Linked DNA regions of Homo sapiens: region 2 is linked to region 1. Evidence: promoter capture Hi-C in 16 types of primary human blood cells and fetal thymus (Javierre and others, 2016). All regions are on one chromosome and are shown on one strand. Each heading gives the region's core, a stretch centred on a gene start or on the middle of the fragment in contact. The rest is flanking DNA. Distances are from core to core; before and after follow the strand shown. Region 1 holds the start of MTM1 (myotubularin 1). Region 2 has its middle 37 kb from the start of MIR2114.

Region 1 (6,315 bases), core at 667-3,166:
CCCAGCTCCTCCCAGCTCCATCGAAAAGCTTTGGCCTCATCTTGGGACACTTAACCAGGCCTATTATATGCAAGGTATCCCAGGCAGCTGCTGCCCTCCCTCCACCCATCCCCATTTTCCTCTATCCCTCTGCCCTAAGATTCACAGATACCAGGAATCCAGAGTTATTCAGCAGCCCACCAGGGAGCCTCTCTAGCATGCAAATTTACTGAGCGTGCTTTGAAATTCAGCACAAAAGTGAATGAGATTCAAAGGAGTTCATAGTCTGGGGAGGGGAGTTGGCAGAGCAGACGTGTAAGCAAATGATGACATCAGTACAACAAGAAGGGCTGGGTGGGGGAGACTTCTAATTGTGCGGGGGCCCAGGAGCAGCTGCTATTCTGCTGTCTTTCCAGGAGTTTGGCAAATCCAGGAGAGAGGACCAAGTGGAAAGGGCTGGAGGAAAGAAAAAACCCAGTGCATCAAGTTCCCTGGAACTAGGCCAGAGCTTGGGGTGAAGAGCAAAAAGAGGCACACTGGGAGAAGTGGCTAAAGAGTGGGTTGGGTTGGATTCTGGATGGCTTTGTTACTCTTCTAAGAAGTCTAGACTCTTCAATAAAGCATATATATATGCATATATAAATGATATATGAATATATGTGTATATGTGTGTGACTATGTAGAAACACACGTACACATATACACTGGTATCAGGTAAAATGCTGTTTTTAGATGCTGGAGAACTAACACATACAAGAGAAAAAAAACAGGTCATGATAAAGTCATCCTATTTACTCGAACTGCTCGCGTATAAGTATTATGCAGTACAAAGAATATTATGCTCATTTTTCTATGTGCCAGGTTGTCTTTTCTTTTTTTAATTTTTTTGACACGCAGTCTCGCTTTGTCACACAGGCTGGAGTGCAGTGGTGCCATCTCAGCTCACTGCAACCTCTCCCTCCCGGGTTCAAGCGATTCTCTTGCCTCAGCTTCCCGAGCAGCTGGTATTACAGACACCTGCCACCACGCCTGGATAATTTTTGTATTTTTAGTAGAGACGAGGTTTCACCATGTCGTCCAGGCTGGTCTCGAACTCCTGACCTCAGGTGATCCGCCTGCGTTGGCCTCCCAAAGTGCTAGGATTACAGGCGTGAGCCACCGCGCCCGGCCCAGATTGTTTGTTTTATTTGATTACACAATGAATTCTCTTCTTGAAGTTTGCCTTTCTTCTCTTTTTCCTGTCCCTTTCTTTTTACTGTATCAATAGTTGTCTGACCCAAACCTCAACAAGTAGAAGGAATTTTGGACTGAAATGTTTCCGTTCACTAAGTCTCAATTGCGTTCTTGGAAAGGTGCTGGCACAGCTGAGGGACACCCCAGCTGTTAGTTGAGTTTGTGAATTGCAGATCCTGCCCCAGAGTCAGTGAAATTTCTTTTTCCCTTATACTATCTCAACTTTACGCAGCCAACCCTGTGTACCCAATAATAGCTCAATTTAGTGGCATCCGCTAAAGTCTTGTATAGAGAAGTTTTCCCTCTGGATTTCCCCTTTACTGAAGAAAAATGGGGAGACCCAGACAAGGGTCCCGGGACTACGCTTCCCAGCCGCCTCCGCCCGGCGCCCAGTCCAACTTCCCTTACAGGGATGGCCCCTGGCATCTTGGCCCCGCCCATCCCCAGCACCATATTGCGAACTACAATTCCCAGCTGCCTCCATGCGTCGGACCCTTCAAAATGGGCTTCCCAGCAGCCTCTCGGGCGAAGAGCCCCGCCCTTCGGAGCTGCTCCCCAGGTCGACCCGGCGCACTCTTCCTGCCCCCTGCCCCGTCACGTGATGCAGTCCCGCCAACCGGCACGGGGAGGCGGGCAGCGGGCGGTGGCCGGGGGCGGGCAGGCCGTGGGGGGCGGACCCCAGAGGGGGCGGAGCAGGGCCCGGCAGCCGAGCAGCCTGGCAACGGCGGTGGCGCCCGGAGCCCGAGGTGGGTGCGCGCTCACGGCTGGCCTGGCTCGGAGCCGGGCACTGCGGGGACCCGTGGTGAGGGGATCGGGAGGAGGAAGTTGGGACTCCTTGGGCCAGCGGGTCGCGCGGGGCCTTGCCGCACCGTCAGGGTTGGGTGGGGGTTTCGTCCAAGCGCCGTCGCTGTCCCCGCGGGGCAGGGCTGAGGCCAGGGAGCAGCAGGCAGGTACCTCCGGCTTCCTCCCGTTCTCCCCGCCCAAGGTGGCCGGCCGGCGGCGGGCGAAGGTCGGGACGGGGGTAGGGGTTGGCTGGCCGTGGAGCTGGGGGCGGACGTCTCAGCCACTGCCTGGACTTTGCTTCCCCGTCCCGGGGCGGTGAGTGGGCCGGGCGTCCGCCCTGCCTCCCCGGCGACGCTCCGCGGCTGGTCCTCGCCTTGGCCCTCCGCACGGAGCGGGCGTCCGTCGCATCCCCGGTGGGCCCTGCGGAGCGGCCGCAGCCCGGCACTGGCCGCGAAGCCTCGATGGCCGCTCTCGGCCAGTGTTTCTGTGTCATACACGAGAGGTTTATCTGCTTTTGCAACAGTTGAGGGAAGATCTTAGAGGGAACGGTTAGTTCCCTGATACGCAGTCGGAAGTATGTACAGGCACGAGCAAGCGCCCGTGGCCGGGTTGCCTCCCTTAACTGTCTTTTGCTGCGCTCAGGAAGTGAAAACTAATTTTAGTATTTGCCTAAGCAAGTAAGAAGTGAATCTGCTGCAAAAATTATATTAGAGCTTTATAGACGCACGCATCGTTTGAGGCGAAGTGGGTTGCGACTGGTTTTGAAACAGATACACCAGATCTTCACAAGAATAAAATTATAGCATTTTAGAATTGACTGGCATCCTGAAGTTTACATTGTTCATTTGTTTCCTGGATGGGGGAACTGAGGCCCAGAGAGGGTAACTAATATGTCCCGGGCTTCAGGGCAACTTAATGGCAAAGCTAATATCACAAGCCAGCTCTTTGGGGGTATCTTGGTGTCTGTCTAGTCTGGATTCTTTTTACCACAGCTCAGTATTATTCCTTGTGAAATAAGCACCTTAGAGTCTTGAGACTGAGCCAGCAATTTTGCTAGACTGCAAACCATTTTGAATTTCCTTCAAAATCGGTTTACCAACCAAATAAGACAATCAGGCCTGTTACTTTGCAGACACGTTTGCCTTCATCCAACATATATATTGGGCACGATCATGTATTCACCAGATTTGATTCTGAATGGCTTTTGGCTGCTTCACAAAATCAAATCTACTTTTCAGAGATTCCACACCATGGGGGAGATTTGAACCAGTGGTGCTGCCTGCAGCACCAGTGTATAGTACCCTCCCGGGTGCTTGAGGGTGGATAACATTCACGGGGGGCTTGTAGATTCTAGTGTAGTTAGTAAATGATTGGTCTCTTTAACTTAAAGTTCTAACTACATTTATTAAGTTGTCGATGGTTTCATTCATTCATCAAACACAAGAATGCCAACGGTGGGCACTGGGAAGACAGCAAAGAGCCCCACTGCTGAGGTCCCTGCCTTATAGAGTTTATATGTGGGGAGGCACACAATAAAAAAATAAACAATGATATATTTTCTGGCAGAGATGAGCGCTATGAGAAAAAATAGAGCTCTGAAACCTTACAATGACAGTGAAACAGGCTGGCATGATTGAGAATGACTTGGGCATTACTTTGAATTTCTAGTTTTAGATTGCCAGCTGCTGCTCCAGTAAAGGAAATAAATCCAAAAGTAAATCTCTGAATCAAAGAGATTTTTTGGAGTCATCATTTCTCCAATGAGTGTCTTTTAGATGGTAAGCTCATCCCAGCCTCATTTTTACTCACATTTCCCCCCACCCCGACATGCAAACAGTAAGTGATTTCAAATACCTAGAGAGGTATTTTTCAAATCCTTTGCTGTTTTCATAGTTAGATAGCTGACTGTAGCTACAGAAAGCTCTGCTGAGGTCAATATTGGTTGTTGATTTCATGCCGGTGTCTGCTGGACTCTCAGGCTACCTTGCACAAGGGTTTCTCTTCCTGTGCAATGGTTTGTACTGTGAACCTCTTATCTGAAATGATCATCAGTCCTTGTGTGGTTTGTAAAGAAACTAGTTCATTTTGAAATAGCTCAAGAGAAAAGAAGCACTCATTCTTAGGAACAAGAGTGCTCGCTAATAAAATGGCATTAATGAGAGTTGACTGTAAAAGTTCATCTGTTTAATACCTTCTAAGTTCTCTCATATTCTGTATGTTCAATGGCTTCAAAGCAAAATTTTAAACTTTTACAGGTCTGAAAAATAATTAAAGTTACAAAAAATACTTTAATATTTTTTGTTCCAAAATGAGAGGCAGATTAACAAAATGTAGTTACTTAGAAACCACTGAAAACACATGGTTCTTGCTCTTATTGAGGGCTCCAAAATAAAGAGAAAAGTGGAGACTCTCAACGATTAATAGGTGACATTTTAAAGGGGTAACCAGAGGATTTCAAAGGCTGGAGTTTCTCATTTCTAAAGTTTATTCGATTTTGTAACAGAATAATAGATTGTTTTCATTATTCTTTAGTAATTTTCCTTTCCTGTTTTCGACCTCTTTGAAGTTCTGCTTTCATTATTTTCTAGTTTTCTAGTTCTTTATTTCCTTTTTGGCAGATGTGGGGGATAGGGACCGTCATTTGCCTAGAAGATTTTGACTCTGGATTGGGCAGCCTGCCCCAATTTGAATCCTGGACCTAATATTATCTGTGTGACTTTAGGCAAGGTACTTAACTCTGTGCTTTAGTTTCCTTATCTGTCAAATGAGAATAATAATAGTACCTTTCTCAAAGGGTTGCTGGAGGGACTGAGTGAATAATCTATGCTAAGTGCTTAGAAAAGTGTCTTGCATGTAGTAGACACTAAAGAAAAGCTGTTATTGACTTGAACGATATGGAACTCTTTTGTTTTTAAGAAAATACATTATTCTAGCTATGTCTTAATAAACTTTTGGAATCCAGTAGCTTGCTTTTCTCGACATTTCTCTGCATTTCCTTGTTGGCACGAGCTTTTGGTTCCAGGCGACGCTGGCAGCAGTGTCCTCCGTTCTTGCAGTGCTATATTCCCTTTACCATTTGGACTTAGAAATTTCTTGAGGCCAAATTTTGTTGCTACAAACAATAATAGAGCAAGAGAGGCCTTCTTCTAGTTTATCTGCCTTGAAAGTGAGAGTGTATCAGGAGACCCAGTAGGAGTTACTGAGTTAGGTCCCGTTGTCATCCTGTAGTTGGGGGAAGATTTTTCATTGGAAATCTTTGCAGTGTATTTTTCCACTGTGAGTACCACGACAGTCTCATCTTTTTCTTTTTAAGAATGTGGAGGCATCTCTTTAGATAATTGGCATTGTGTACTACTAGTGCTTTCTATTTCTACCAGAGGAACTATGGTAAATGAGCCTTTTGTTTGTGTGAGGTGGTAGAAAGCTTCCTGCATTTGGATTCCAGAAGCTGAGTTCAGGTCCCAGTTCTCTTCCTTAACTCTGTGTCACTGGACAAGTCATTTAACCTTGCTGCTAGTGGCTCTTCCATCTGTAAGATAGAGCTAATAAAACCTGCCCTGCCAAGTTTCCAGAGTTCGTCAGAGAATCAAATGTGCCTCAGAGCCCTTTGTAAAGTGTGCAGCATTATTATTATTGCATGAATGTGTTGTATAAGCAGTTGCTATTTGGAGAACTGGTATAAGAGGGCAGTTGTCCTTCCTGTTCTTGGACTGTCTTCCCTGTGGCTGTAGGTGTGGCCTCTCTGCCTCAATCTCCCTCTTCTGTCATCATTAAAATATGCAGGTATTTATATTGCCTCTTTCATAGGGGCCTGATGTCACTGGTATACCATAACAAGTTTTTGTTTTATGTATTCCTAAAATGGTAGTAGTGTATAACCAACAATCACAGGGTGACAGCAAGGCAAGCTCAGCCTCAGGGAATGTTGCCTGCCTCTCCCAAGTGTCTCAGAATGGAAGACTTTCTCTTTTCCAATCGAGACCTGACCGCAGCTCCTGAGTCCATACTAGACTGGATGCTTGTGCTTCTGGGGTTAGAATAAAAAGCGATCCAGGCTCTGGGGAAGAGATGGTTGATAGCTCCCCAGGTCTGTACCATCCTCCTTGCTGGAACAGGGCAGGCTCCTGAGTGATAGGGCAGGCGCCTGAGCGGCCTTTTCTCGTTAAAGTTGTTTCTCAGTATCTTGAAATGTCTCTGTAAGTTGCACTTTGCAATGAATTTCATGTACTTGTATTAGTTTAGTATTGCTGTTCCTTGACTGTTTGTCTTAATAGGTAACTCCTACATATTTCAGTATGTTTTTCATTTTCTATGATTGTA
Region 2 (6,092 bases), core at 2,596-5,095, 380 kb before region 1:
CAGGGCTGTGCATTTGTGTCAAATCTCCTTCTGCCTCCCCCTTATAAAGACACATGATGTTGCATTTAGAGCCTACCCAAATGGATGAAGATGTGAGGATAACATCCTCATCTCAAAATTATTAATTTATTCACATCTGCAGAGATGCTATTTCCATATAAGGTAACATTTAGAAGTTCCAGATTTGGGGCCATTATCCAGCCTACAATAGTTTTCATCATCACCTAGGTCTTACAGCAGGGTATTCACATGGCTGTAACTCTTCTTTAAACACCTACTAAAGTTAATGCCATATCTGGATTCATCTTAAAAATCTTACCCCTTGACTCCTGAATTCACTAACCCAGAGGTCTCATCTTTTTGCCGTAATTTTGAGAGATAATTTTCGGTTTTATTTATTTTTTTTTTTAGACAAGGTCTCACTCTGTCACCCAGGTTGGAGGGCTGTGGTGCAGTGGCATGATCATGGCTCATTGCAGCCTCAAACTCCTGGGCTCAGGCAGTCCTTCCACCTCAGCCTCCCAAGTGGCTAGGACTACAGGCACGTGCCACTGCACCCCACTATTTTTTTTTTTATTTTTTGAAGAGATGTGATTTCAACATGTTGCCCAGGCTGATCTCAAACTCCCGGCTTCAAGTGATCCTCCCCCATTGGCTTCCCAAAGTGCTGAGATTATAGGCATGAGCCACTGCACCCAGGCAAGAGCCAATTTTCAATTATCTATGGAAGTGATATATTAACTGATATTTGCCAAACGTAAATTCATGTTTGCATTCACAGAGTGAATGGGGAAGAACTGTGGAGACAGATACCCCAACTTGTGTCCTCACTCTGAGATGACCTCTTCAAAGAGTGTTCATGGCCAGTTCAGGAGGCAGCATGCAGAATGGCAAGGTAACTGAGCTTGGAGTCAGAGAAGCTGAGTTTTGACACAGCTCTATTACTGCCAGCTGAGTATGACCAATCACTTAACCTTTCTGGGCCTCAATTTCTTTGTCTGTGAAACAGGACTATTGATATCTGTGTTGCTTACCTCACAGGGCAGAGGTCAAGTATGCATGTATGCTCTTTTTCCATCTGCAAGAGCATGGCTCAAGCTGGGTGAACAGTGAGGGCCATGTAGTCATGTACTCCCAGGCAGCAAGTGGTAGTGAGGCCTGAAGCCTGGGCAGGCCCTATAGGAGGACTCAGGCCACTGGGAGACATCAAGAAAGGCCTTGACAAGGTGTGTGTGCTCACATACCACCTGTTTCCCTCAACAGCCCAGGCCTGGGGCCTGCCAGCTAAGATTTGCTGCTCGCATTGAGCCTCATAAATGAATAAAGTAGGTAATTTAATATCATTGTGACAACTACAAGAGAGATTTTGCATGTCTGCTTTGCAGCATAAAGTTTCCTTAGAGCCAACTTTCAGACTTGGACAATTTCTATATTCTTTCCTACCTCTACCTCCCCAGAGAGGCAGGGATGTCAGACAGAAATTAAGAAAATTCTGAATTCCTCAGGAAGATTACTGTGTTTGGATTTTTTTGAAAGAATTGAATGAACATTTTGTCAACATGGTATCAGGGGAAAGAGGAGTGGCATATTCAGCACTATCTTGCATCCTTGAGAAGATAAAGGCAGACTTTGAGCACGGAGGATTCTTGTCTGTTGACCTCTACTCTAAGGCACCCCTGTGGACCTCTCCTCCACTCAATCTAAAGTGGATGTAAAAGTCTATCCTCATCTGGACAGGCCAAGTGGGCCCTCCATGCTGTCTTTCTCTAGCGTCATGCCCCGAGGCTCCAATGACTATATAAAGGGGCTGCTTCTCCAGCCCAAGCCCAGCAGCCCTAACCTCTCCCACTTTACACTGGCTCCTGTTTTCATCCTTCGTCCCTCCCAGCCACTTCCATGCCTTTGATAGCACATGGACTCAGCATCCTCAGAGTACATCAGTGCAGATCGTCAGATAGAGTGCCAGGGGGGTAAACATTTCAGTCATTCAGAACCCATTCCACTTGGAGCACATGGTATGTCAGGGACCCAGTCTATATTATCCCCAGGCGAAGTCTGGAACACAGAAATCCAGAGATTCCTAAACCCACCCAATAAACTTCCCCAGCCCTGACTGAGGTGTATTCCTATTTGCCCACCCTGTGCTCACCTACTGCCATCCCCCATCAACAGATATGCCAATCTTTTTTTTGGCCACTGTCTCCATAAGTGCCCCCTCTGTGCACATCATGGATTCCCTTCATGCTTGCTCTATTTCTCCCCACTGCTGCTAACCTCCTGACAGGGAAGTGGCACCCTTGGGCCACCAAAGTCCTTTAGATGAGCTGGATCCCCTCCTCCAAACGGCTGCTAGTGGGACACTAGGAGGACTCAAGTCCAGCTGTATGAGTTTGTAAAAGGGCAGAGGCAAGAAGGCTTTTAAGCCAGTGTTGCCAAGATGAGTTTTGGTAAGTGGGGGTGTTTGGATGGGAGAAGAAGCTTAAGACAGATCCTTTCCCATTGGGATGAAGCTTTGAGCCAGCCAGCTTTCTTTGTGATATGTGATGAGTTATATCACCCACCCAGGATAGAAGTTCCTGTTCATCCAGGTCCTCAGGACCAGAACAAGCTTCTCCAGGGCAAAATAAATCACAAAGAATCTCCTCAAGGGCCCAGGAAAGTGAATATTCAGTGGCAGTTGCTCCCTGACTAATGCTAACTAAAGTTAGCCCTGAGCTAGTACAACCTTCCATTCTTCAAGTGGGGAAATTGAGGCCCAGGCAGCTCATGTCTCCAGCTCTCCCCAGGGTTGAATGTAAGTCTCTTGATTCCCAGTCTTGTCTTTTCTCCACCCTACCACCTGACCTGCCCTTGGACACATGGCTGCGAGGGCCAGCCTTCCTCAGCTTACCACTCTCAATATCACTTTGACAAGAATTCAGATTTCACAGCCGTATCAGCAGGATGTTAAATGTTGCAGTGAAGCGTGGCTAAATGGTGACATCTCTAGCTTCATGGTGGTCAGCCTACAACTGAGAGGCTCAAGGTCAATAGCTGCAGGCCTGACAGGTCCTGGATCCACATGCCAATGGCAGTGGAGACAGATTTACCACAGGGAGCCCTGCACCATCAGAATGGATGCCAGCGGCAGACCTTGTTTCTTTCCTTTGATATGCCAAAAGATTAAGTTTGAGCCCCTAAGGACTCTCTAGGGTATCTTGGGAACTTCCACCAGCCAGTAGTCAAAGTGCCCTTTAATCCAGCTGAGTGCATAACTAGGGAACTAGAGTGTTGTCTTGGGCTACAGCTGAGATGGGGCTCTAGCAAAAAGCCTGGTGTAAACTTACTCACTCTTCTAAAGCCCAAGCAGCCTCTGCACAGAGAGCAGCTAAGTAAAGATGAAGCCTCTTAGGCCACTGAACTGACTGTGATGTGATGATCTTGCCATCTCCTGGAAAGAGGGGGTTGTGGGCCCATCACAAGAAACAGCCCAAAGGAAGGGCCAACCTGTGGTGGTAGCCCCTGAGCTGCCCACAGGGTGCCAAGAGACACAGTGTCAGCATTTTCATCTATGTCGTTATCATTGTTGCAACCCCTCCCAGACAACTACCTGACATTGAGTGCCTCCTGCATGCCAAGAATATTGTAAGCATTCACTCCTGTGTTGATTCTCACAAATACCCTGTGGGATTAGTATTATAATTAGGCCCATTTTATAGATAAAGAAAACAAAACTCAGAGAGGTAAAGTTACTCACCAAAGCCTTATGGCTGGTAAGCATGTGACAATGAGGTGAAGAAGCTGCCTCTTGTTCTTAAGGTGTTGCCAGTCATGTCTACAGAGTGTATGGAAATGGAATCAGTGTTTCTTTGTGGGGACTGGATTCAGTCTTGGTGATAAGAACTCCCATTTATTATCTACTATCTGCCAGGAGCTTTACATGATTATTCCATTTAATCCTCACAATAGCCCTCTGAATATGCTATTATTATTATCTTCATTTTAGGGAGGAAAATGAGACTCCTAGAAGTTAAGCAACTTGAGCAAGGAATCACAGCTAATAAAAACAGAGCTGGGATTTGAACCACTAAGCCAGTGGCTCTCAAACTTTTTTCCTCAGATCCTTTATACTCTTGAAACTTATTGAGAGTAAATCTACAGAAACAGAAATGAGATTAGTGGTTTCCAGGGACTGGGGAAAGAGCAGAAAGGGGAGTGACTCCTTAATGGTACGGGGCTTCCTTTTGGGGTGAAGGAAATGTGGAACTACAGAGGCGATGGTTGCACAATATTGAGAATATACTTACTGCCACTGATTATACACTTTAAAGTAGTTAATTTTATGTCATGTGAATTTTACTTCAGAAAAAAAAATGATATAATGAGGTAAATCAACAACAATGACAAAAACTTATTGAGGCCTCCAAAGACCTTTTGTTTATGTGGGTCATATCTATTTATGTTACCATATTAGAAAAAATATTAAAATATTTATTTATTTTGAAATTAAAATAATGAACTAATTACATGTAAATATAAATAGTATTTTTATGAAAATAGCTATATTTTTCTAAACAAAAACTTGTATTGAAAAGAGTGGCATTATGTTACATTTTTGCAAATTTCTTTTATGTCTGGCTCGCTAGAAGACAGCTGGATTCTCACATCTACTTCTTTATTCAGTTGTGAGATGTTGTTTGGTTGAAGTACATGAAGAAAATCTGGCCTCACACTAATATGAAGTTGAGAAAGGGAGGAATATTTTAATAGACTTTTCAGATCATTGTGGACATTTGTCTTTGATAGGACACAAAAACTCCACCAATGGTTGTTTTTTACAGGTTAAGTGTAATGTGGGATGCAAAACTTTATCAGTGAGCCTTCTCTACTTGGTTCCGTTGGACTCTCTTGTCTTTTGAATGGATTTTTTACCTATTTATTGTTTGGTAACATTGTGTATTGGTCGCTTTAAAAAATGGTGGTGCCCTGACTTATGGAGAGCCTCCATATGTTGACATATTTCATTCCACAACATCACAAGATCACATTTGTTAATATTATGACCCATCTCGTTGGAAAAAGCCTTTAACTGTTGAGAAGCTGTCAAGCTTACAGTGGTGGATACAAGCTTTTCAAAATTCAAATTTTTGCCTGAAGGCTCAAATTTTATCATTGGCAAAAACTATAGTCAGTTGTTTTCCTTGAAGTGACAGGCTCACTTCGTTCATCTACAAGAAAATGTCTGCCAAATACCCAAGTCTGAGTAACATTAGTTAGTCATTCTTTCAAGTAAATATGATGTTCTATGAAAAATCGGCCAGTTTAGCTCACAACTCAAAACACGCAGTAGTGCTTTGCCTTGAGTCAACGACTACACTTTGATTCCAGCAGAACTGCTTTGAGCATAGTTCTCATTGTGTCTCACCAAATTTTAAAAATAAGGGGACTCAAGGGCTAGTATTTAATAAAGTTAATTTTCACTGCTTCGCTAAGAACATTCGTAAGTGAAGCTGGCATTTTTTAAACTGCAGGTGTGTGGTGGTGAAGAATCCAATTGACAACTAGTACAGTTGGTGCCATGGTCCCAATTCATGCTCAGGAACCTGCTCTTTTCACCTACCTCTGCTTTTGCACCAGCAGTGCAAATGGAAAGCATGACAGTGGAATATCAAAGAACATTTCAGTATTATTGGGAAAATAGTTTTCACCTTGAGGATCCTCTAAAAGGGTCTTGGAGACCTCCACGGGTCCACAGATCCTACTCTGAGAACCATTGCACATGGCTATGCATGGTGCCACCTCCCTTACTTAAGAGCTTTGATGGCTTACTATCATCTGCAGAATCGGACCTGCCCTCACCCATGATGTCAGCCCAGGACACAGGGACCCAGCCAAATGGGCTCCTTGCCATTTTCCAAATGTGTCCTCTCATGCCCTTGTCACTGCTCTCCCCTCTACCAGGAATGCCTTCATCACCAACTCTGGCCATTGAAATATTACATATCCTCCAAGGCCCAGGTCAACCACTGCCTTTTCCAGAAAGCTTTCTCAGGGTTTTTTTGTTTTTTGGTTTTTTTTTGAGATGGAGTCTCGCTCTGTCGCCCAGGCTGGAG

The links. Contacts are between HindIII fragments. The CHiCAGO score rates a contact against its expected background, and 5 or more counts as called.
Region 2: a fragment that was not itself captured here is called in contact with the fragment with the promoter of MTM1 in region 1 in 1 of 17 cell types (M1 macrophages); the score reaches 5.8 in M1 macrophages.

Annotation. Positions count from the first base shown.
Region 1 is chrX:150,566,705-150,573,019 of GRCh38, forward strand. It overlaps MTM1 (myotubularin 1), which reads left to right and starts at 1,917. Exons shown (of 15, transcript NM_000252.3): 1 at 1,917-1,958. RefSeq lists an enhancer at 1-434 and a silencer at 1,719-2,398. The HindIII fragment of the contact is 5,391 bases long and covers 27-5,417 here.
Region 2 is chrX:150,187,777-150,193,868 of GRCh38, forward strand. No RefSeq gene overlaps it. Among named protein-coding and RNA genes, the nearest start is that of MIR2114, 37 kb to the right of the region's middle. The HindIII fragment of the contact is 2,479 bases long and covers 2,607-5,085 here.